2 separate regions of the Homo sapiens genome follow, and region 2 is linked to region 1. The links are contacts of gene promoters, found by promoter capture Hi-C in human tissues and cell types (Jung and others, 2019). All regions are on one chromosome and are shown on one strand. Each heading gives the region's core, a stretch centred on a gene start or on the middle of the fragment in contact. The rest is flanking DNA. Distances are from core to core; before and after follow the strand shown. Region 1 holds the start of CMKLR1 (chemerin chemokine-like receptor 1). Region 2 has its middle 51 kb from the start of CMKLR1.

Evidence for each region. Contacts are between HindIII fragments. The study calls those that stand out against the background at their distance.
Region 2: a contact is called between a fragment that was not itself captured here and the fragment with the promoter of CMKLR1 in region 1, in 1 of the 25 tissues and cell types used here (pancreas).

What each region holds. Positions count from the first base shown.
Region 1 is chr12:108,337,822-108,341,511 of GRCh38, reverse strand. It overlaps CMKLR1 (chemerin chemokine-like receptor 1), which reads left to right and starts at 2,201. Exons shown (of 4, transcript NM_001142343.2): 1 at 2,201-2,485. RefSeq lists a silencer at 1,918-2,037 and an enhancer at 2,145-2,768. The HindIII fragment of the contact is 8,294 bases long and covers 1-3,690 here.
Region 2 is chr12:108,387,823-108,391,815 of GRCh38, reverse strand. No RefSeq gene overlaps it. Among named protein-coding and RNA genes, the nearest start is that of CMKLR1, 51 kb to the right of the region's middle. RefSeq lists an enhancer at 770-1,064. The HindIII fragment of the contact is 3,825 bases long and covers 345-3,993 here.

The sequences.
Region 1 (3,690 bases), core at 952-3,451:
AAGGGTTTGTGTTTCTAACAAACTTCTGGGTGAGGCTGCTGGGGTTGGTATGGAAACTAGACTTTAGGAACCTCTGGTCTCTATTAGATGGTGATATACAAGATCCCTGCCACGTTATGGAAATATCCTCTCCTTTCACCAGGAGAACCTGGGGAATGACATGATTTGGCTTTGTGTCCCGACCCAAATCTCATCTTGAATTGGAATTCCATAATCCTCACGAGTCATGGGAGGGACCAGGTGGGAGGTAATTGAACATGGGGGTGGTTTTCCCCCCATCCTGTTCTCATGATAGTGAGTGAGTTCTCATGAAATCTGATGGTTTTATAAGAGGCTTCCCCCTTTGCCTGGCACTCATTGTCTCTCCTGCCACCCTGTGAAGAGGTACCTTCCATCATGATTGTAAGTTTCCTGAGGCCTCCCCTGCTATGCGAAAATGTGAGTCAATTAAACCTTTTTTCTTTATAAATTACCCAGTCTTGGGTATTTCTTCACAGCAGTGTGAGAACGGACCAATACAATTACTAACTTCTGGGTGACCTTGGGTGAGTCCCTTGCCTCCTCTGGGTTCAGTGTTCTCATCTGTACAGTAAGTGTTTCGATATGATGTTTTGTTCCCTAGATAAGCCCAAAGAAGAAGAGAGCAAGGAAGACAGTTGGGTAGACTGGGCCTGACTTCTGACTATAGAGACCTGTGTGACCTCAGGCAAGAGACTCAATCTCTCTGGGCTTCAAGTTATCTGTGAAATGGAAGAATGAAATTAGATGGTTTCTAAGTGTAAAGCTCACTGAATTAAAGGATTGAGGATGGTGGGGAGAGGTCGGTGGGGTTCTAAGGCTGATCAGACGATGAGGACATAGTCCTCCACCTGCCCAAGACTTTGAGGCCCAAAACACAGGTTTCTCTCCTTCTCTCCCTCCCTCCCCATCTCCCTCTCCCTTCACCTTCCCCTCCTCCCCATTACCTTCCTCCCTGCCCTCCCTTTTCTTCCTTTCTTTCTTCTCCTCCCTTCCCCTCTCTTCCCCTCCCCTGCCCTTCCCTTTTCTTTTTCTTTCTAAAAATATTATTTTAGGCAGTCGTAGGCAGTCTTGGCTTTGGAATCAGACAGACTCAGATCCAGCCATGGCTCGGTCAGCATGAGCTTGGCGCCCTGGGCAAAACGACTTCTGCTCTGTGGCCCTAGCATCCTCATGTGTAGAATGGGCAAGTGATGCCCCCCCGACGTGGGTGGTGGTTCACACGGCTTACTCCATGGAAGCACTTGGCACAGGGGCCCACATGGGCACTTCTGTTATTTCTTCAGTCTGGAGGCCAAGGGTGGGCCTCCGAGCCAGACAACATAGTTGGAATCCCAGCTCTGTCAGCTGCTGGCGGTGTGGTCTTGAGCAAGTGACTTAATCTCTCTGTACCCCAGTTTCCTTATTGGTAAGACTGGAGTAGTAATAATTCCTGTTATCTAGGGTTGCCGTGAAGAGTAAGTACGCATCGCCTAGCACGCTGCCTGGCTGTCGGTTGTTTTGATTATTCCACTAATGATGGTGACCACACAGCCGATGAACCAGGCACTTAGCGCCTGGTTAGGGCAGGGAACAGAATACAGTTCTTTCCCTACAGAGTTCCTGGTGCAAGGAGTTCTCGGTGCAAGGAGAGAGACATCTTAACAGGCAAGGACAGCACTGCATCAGTGAGGTGATGGGGTGACCCTGAGGGGCACAGCAGCCCCCGAGGGTTGGGGAAGGCTTCCCTGGGAGGTGACCTTCAACCTGAGACCTGAAGAGGCAGTAGGAGACCATCGGGCCACGAATTAGGGCAGGAATAGCATCCAGGTGGGAGGAACAGCGTTGCAAAGGCCCAGGGTGAGAGGCAGCCAATCTCTCGGTCAGTGTGGAGCTTGAGCCCCTCACCGGGAGCAGAGGCGCTTGCACTTCCCCCAGCAGCCGGGTGCTCAGATGTGCTCCCTGTTTGCGCTCAGTGGGCACGGCTCCCCGGCTGCAAGAGGCTGCCAGAGGGGCGGGTCGTCCCCAGCGGGCCCCCGCCGCCACCCACAAGCCCAGTCCCCGGCTGGTAGGGGCACCCTCCCCTCGCAGCCCCCTCTCCACGCAGCTAGCCGCCCCCGCCCTAGGTCAGCCCAGTTTCCTGCCCCTCCCTCCTGCTCTCCTCCCTCCAGCTGTTTCTCTGGCTGAGTTCTGTCCCAGTCCCATTCAGGGAAGCAGCCCCGGCGGCCAGCAGGGAGCTCAGGACAGAGCAGGCTCCCTGGGAAGCCTCCGGGTGATAGGGGTGTTCCAGCTGCGGCGCTCTGGGGGTTCAGAGGGGGATCTTGAATGAACAAATGAATGAACTGCTTTCTGGGCAAACAGCCACAGCCAGAGGAGCCTGTGATTGGCAGAAAGAAGCCAGGGTGTGCAAGTCTCCCCAACAGCCTCGAGTGGCCTGCAGTCACAGGGAACCCTCAGGAAGACCTTCCGGGCAGAGACCAGAGGGAAGGTATCATCACACACTTGCCTTGGGTGTCTTCTGAGGGGGGCCAGGGAAGGGGAATGAATACTAACAGAGAGAAAAGTTTGTTTCTTTTTATAATTTCATATTTGTTAAAAGGAAGAGTTTTGTTATTATTTTCAGATGTCAAAAGTAATGCATGTTCATTGTTTAAAGAAATAGCAAGGATACACAACTAAATATATGAATGTGGATTTCCACATCTAGTTTGGTAACCTGCTTAACCACAGATTGTGAACTTTTTTCCATATCACCTATATTCTTCCAATATACATTTTTCATGGCTGCATAGAAAGGCTATCTTAAGATTATTTGACTTTTCCATAATAGATTTGCTTCTTTTTTTTTATTAGAACAGTGCTGCAATGAATATTTAGTATGACATCTTTGTGTGTGTGTCTTATGAATACCTTTTAGAAATTGCTAGATTTAAGGTTTGCCTATTTTTAAGACTTCTGAGCTTTTGGTCACACTGCACCCTGGAAGGCCGTGGCAGCTTGACCTCTCTACGATGTTATACCAGGGCACAGTATTCTCACATACTAAACCCACCTTGTTGCTACCCATCCCTTAAACTTTCCCTGATGTGAAGTCGAGAATAATATCTAGATGCTTCAATAGGCATTTCATTTCTTTGTTAGTGTTGATTCTCTTTTATAAACTTATTTTTCACATTTCTAGTCTGACTCTCCTGTTCAAGTCTGTTCCCATTTTTTTCTCCTCTGGGGGCATGTTTATCTTTTTCCAATTGATATCTAAGGGTTCTTTGTATATAAAGGACACAAAACCTTTGCCGGCACTCTCTGTTGAAAATATTCCACTCCCTCCTCTGTCTTCAGAATAGCCCATTTTAAATGGGCAAGCCAGCTTTGGCAAAATTATAAGCATTACAACATCAGGGAACTACTACTTGATATAAGCCCAATCACTCAGACCTGTGCGGTTCAGAGATGCCAGATCACTGGTCTGAGGTCACACGCCTGAACGTCCAGGTTCTGAGTCTTTCTTTTTCTATTAGGGAAAGCCCTCAACTTCCCTTTTGCATCCCCTACCTCCTTCTCAAGACCAATCTTCTCTGTGGTTCTTGCTGTATCTCCTGCCCCTTCCAAACTGGTTTGAAGGTAAGATTCCTCTAAATGCCTTGGCTGCTGAGGTGAGTGTGACTGGGTCATTCAGGCCTCTGGTGCAGGAGG
Region 2 (3,993 bases), core at 1,008-3,507, 50 kb before region 1:
CTTTCACCTTATGATTTAGGCAAAAGGGATGTCTTTAACTTTCTTGACTAAGCTTTGTCACTATTGGAGCCTCCAGGCTTTTGCACATGCTGTTCCCTTTGCCAGGAACACCATCTCCCTCTTTGCTTGGTTCAAGTCAATTTATTTTTGAGAATCTTTCCCGATGTCCCCATGAAGACCCTCACTGGATCACACATCATTTGTCAAATGCTCTGGCCTTTCTCCTAGATGTTTAACTTTGCAAGGTCAGGAACTGATGCTTATTTACTCATTATATCCTCAGTTCCTGGCACACAGTAGGTGCTCAATAAATGTTTGTAACATAATCTAAAAAATGAGTGTTTCAGAATGTATGATACCAGTGGTTCCTGATAATACTGATGATGATGATGATAATAATAATAACAATAATAAAAGTGGAAAGCTAAGGTGGATGTTACCATTCTCATTTTATAGTTGAGGAAATGGAGGCTCACAAAAATGGAATGCACCAGTGCAAGGACCTTCTAGTTTTGGAAACTCACAGAACCAGCCCCACCTCCTCTCCTCTGTGCATATCAAACTGGGAGGCCATGCAACCTGGTGGTGGAGGTCATCAGCCCCTTCTTGGTGCAGGCACATTGCAGCTTAGGAAGCTTCTCCACTTATAGCTGCCCTTTCCCAACTCATTGTCCCAGTCTGAGCCCCGAGTCTCACGTGGACTATTGTAGCAGCCTCCTACAAAGATTTCTATAATAGGTCTCCCTGCTGGAGTCTGCCCTCTGTGCACTGCGGGGAGTCAGAAACCCCAGCTGCTCTCATGTTCCTAATCTTAACAGCCCTCAATGGCTGCTTTTTGCCAGTGAAATGAAGTCCCAGGCTCCTTCGGGCTGACATCGAACACCCTGCACAATTGGCCCCCAGCCCCCATGAACCTTCCCGACCTCTTGTCCAGCTTCCATTTTTACTCTTGTATTTGCCCCACCCTCCAGCCTAACCAATCCAATCCTTGTTTGTACCATCCCCCACCAACTTCCCAGCCCCATGTTTTTTCTTGTGCTGGTCGTTTTGCCTAGAATGCTTTTCTTTCTTATTTCATTGTGGGAAATGCCTCTTCACTCTTCAGGGCCCAGCCCAGACACCCTCCTCCTCCAGGAAGCCTGCCTTGATTTTCCCCAGCTAGAAGTGATCTTTCAATTCACAGAGCACTTTCTCTGGTCTTTTTGAGCATATGCCTCCCCAAACTTCTGTTTGAGCTCTGTGTGCCCTTGCTTGTTACCCCAAAACCCTACCACAAAGGAGGCCCCCAGAAGGTGTGTCCAGGCAGCTAGCAGAAAGTGGGCATTGTAAAATGGATATTTGCCTGATTAATTCATTCATTAATGAAGGATGAATGAGTGAATGAAAGACCATGAAGTTGCAAAAGTTCAGGCTTTAAAGCCATACAGACCTGGGTTTGAATCTACTTCTGGCACTCACCAGCTGTGTGGCTTTGGACAAGTCTCTTTACCCCTCTGAGCCTCAATCTTCTGGGTAACTTTTCAGGGCTATTCAGAGGATTGGGCATAATACAATAGAGTGACCAGCACATAGTAGGTGCTCAACAGATTGATGTGTTTTTTTGAATGAATGGATGAATATGGAGGGTGTTTGAAAGATCATGGATTTTGACACCAGCTGGATCTGGTTTGAACCTACCTCAAACCAGGTATTTTGATTGTATTTTGTGATTGTGATGACTTTAGGAATGATTTTTTACCTGTATGACCCTCAGTTTCCTCCTTGGTAAAATGAGAGTAACTAACAGTCCTTAGAGGCAGGGTTATGATAGGGATAGAGATACTTCATTTACAGTGTCAAGCTCATAAAAATGAGTAATACTGCCATGATGATGATGGTGGTGGTGATGATGAGGATGATGGTGATGATGGTGGTCATTGTGGTGATTATGATGGTGATGATAGTGGTAGTAATGGTGATAATGGTGGTGATGATAATGATGATGGTTGTGATAATGGTGATGGTGATGATAGTGATGATGATGATGACTGTAATAGTGGGGATAGTGGTGATGATGGTGGTGATAGTCGTAATGATAATAATGATGGGGATGATAATAATGGTGATGGTGATGATGGTGGTAGTGATAGTGATTGTGGTGGTAATGGTGATAATGGTGGTGGTGATAATGATGATGGTTGTGATAATGGTGGTGGTGATAATAGTGATGCTGATGTTGATGGTGATGGTGGGGATAGTGCTGATGATGGTGGTGATGGCTGAAATGATAATGATGATGGGGATGATAATAATGGTGATAGTGATGATCATGATAGTGTTGGTAGTGGTGATAATGGTGATGATGATGGTGGTGGTAGTGATCATGATAATGATTGTGATGATGGTGGTGGTGATGATGGTGGTGGAAGAGGAGGATTAGGGAGGGCTTGACCAGTCTTGGCACAAATTTCCATGCCCCAGCCAGCATTCTTCTGGGCTGCCCTCCAAGCTGGTGACTAGTGTCCCTTAGTTCCCCTGGGGTTTCACTGTAATGTCCTCCTACTAGCTAGCAGCTATCCTTCCATCATCTGCTCTTCTTCCTCTCTCCCCATCAGGTACTTTAATGAGGGGCCAGCACCATCCATAGCCAGGCTGGGCCCCATGTAGGGTGATGACTGAAAATGGAGCCAGGGCAGGTCTAGTGAGAGCTGCCAGTGCAGGCTCAGTGATCAAGGTAGATCATGGAGTCAGGTGAGCCTAGGGGTCTCAGTCCTGAGCCCTGCAGGGGTCTCAGTTGTGTAACAGCATCAGCACCACATGGGCATCACTTACAACAGTTATTCCTTCGTGTGATCTTGCCTAGGGGGAGTGAAGAGGGGCTTTTCTTCTGTAGAGGCTGAATCTGCCTCCCTGAAGCTCCTCCAGGTTAATGCTGGCTCTGACTTCTGGACCCACACAGAATATGGGTGTTGTCTATTCCCTAGGATTCTAAACCTCATAAAACAACAACAGCAACTGAAATGATATCTTAGCTTGGGTTCCCCTGGAAGCAAAGCTGGAGACAAGGATTTGTTAATATGGGAAATGAGTTTATATATGTATATGTGTATATATATATAAGTTTATATGGGAAATGAGGGAAACAGAAGGGGAACAGGGAAGTGAGACAAGGAAGGGAAGAAGCCTAAAATGCATCCATTATTAAACCAGTCATCACTGTGGGTGGCTGGAGCCCAATCCCACTGGGAGGCTCTGGGAAACTGTGTGGAAAACATGCCTCAGAGTTATCTTACCTGAGGAGTTGGGGAGCTTTGGTATTTGATCATTGAGGATGTTGCTAGGAGGCACCGATGCCCCAGCACTTCAGGCCAACCTTGGACCTGAGAAAGCCCTCAGGTGCTGACAACAGAATTGGGCCAATGTGCCCTGAAGTGGTGAGGGCAAGGGGATATGGGTGGGCTCCAGAGGGTCTGTAACTCATGTATTGACTCATGGATTTTTCAGTTAAGTCCTAATGATCCCTGAGAAGGTTCATTTTGTGTGTCAATTTGGCTGGACTAAAAGATGCTGATAATCTGGTTAAACATTATTTCTGGGTGTGCCTGTGAGGATGTTTCTGGAAGAGATTAGTGTTTAAATAGGTGAACTGAATAAAGCACATTGCCCTTCCGGAGGTGGGTGGGCATAAGCCAACCCACTGAGGGCCTGACTAGAACACAAAAGCCAAGAAAGGTTGAATTTGCTCTCTGCCTGAGTGCTTGAGCTGGGACATCAGTTTCTTCCTGCCCTCAGACTGAGACTTACACCATTGGTGTTTCTGGTTTTCAGGGCTTTGGACTTGGGCTGAAGTACATTGCCAAATTTTCTGGGTTTCCAACTTGCAGATGGCAGATTGTAGGCCTGCTAAGCCTCCCTAATCATGTGAACCAATTTCTCTCTCTCTCTCTCTCTCCCTCTGTCTCTCTCTCTCTCCCTTTCTCTCCACCATTGGTTCTGCTTCTCTGGAGATCCCTA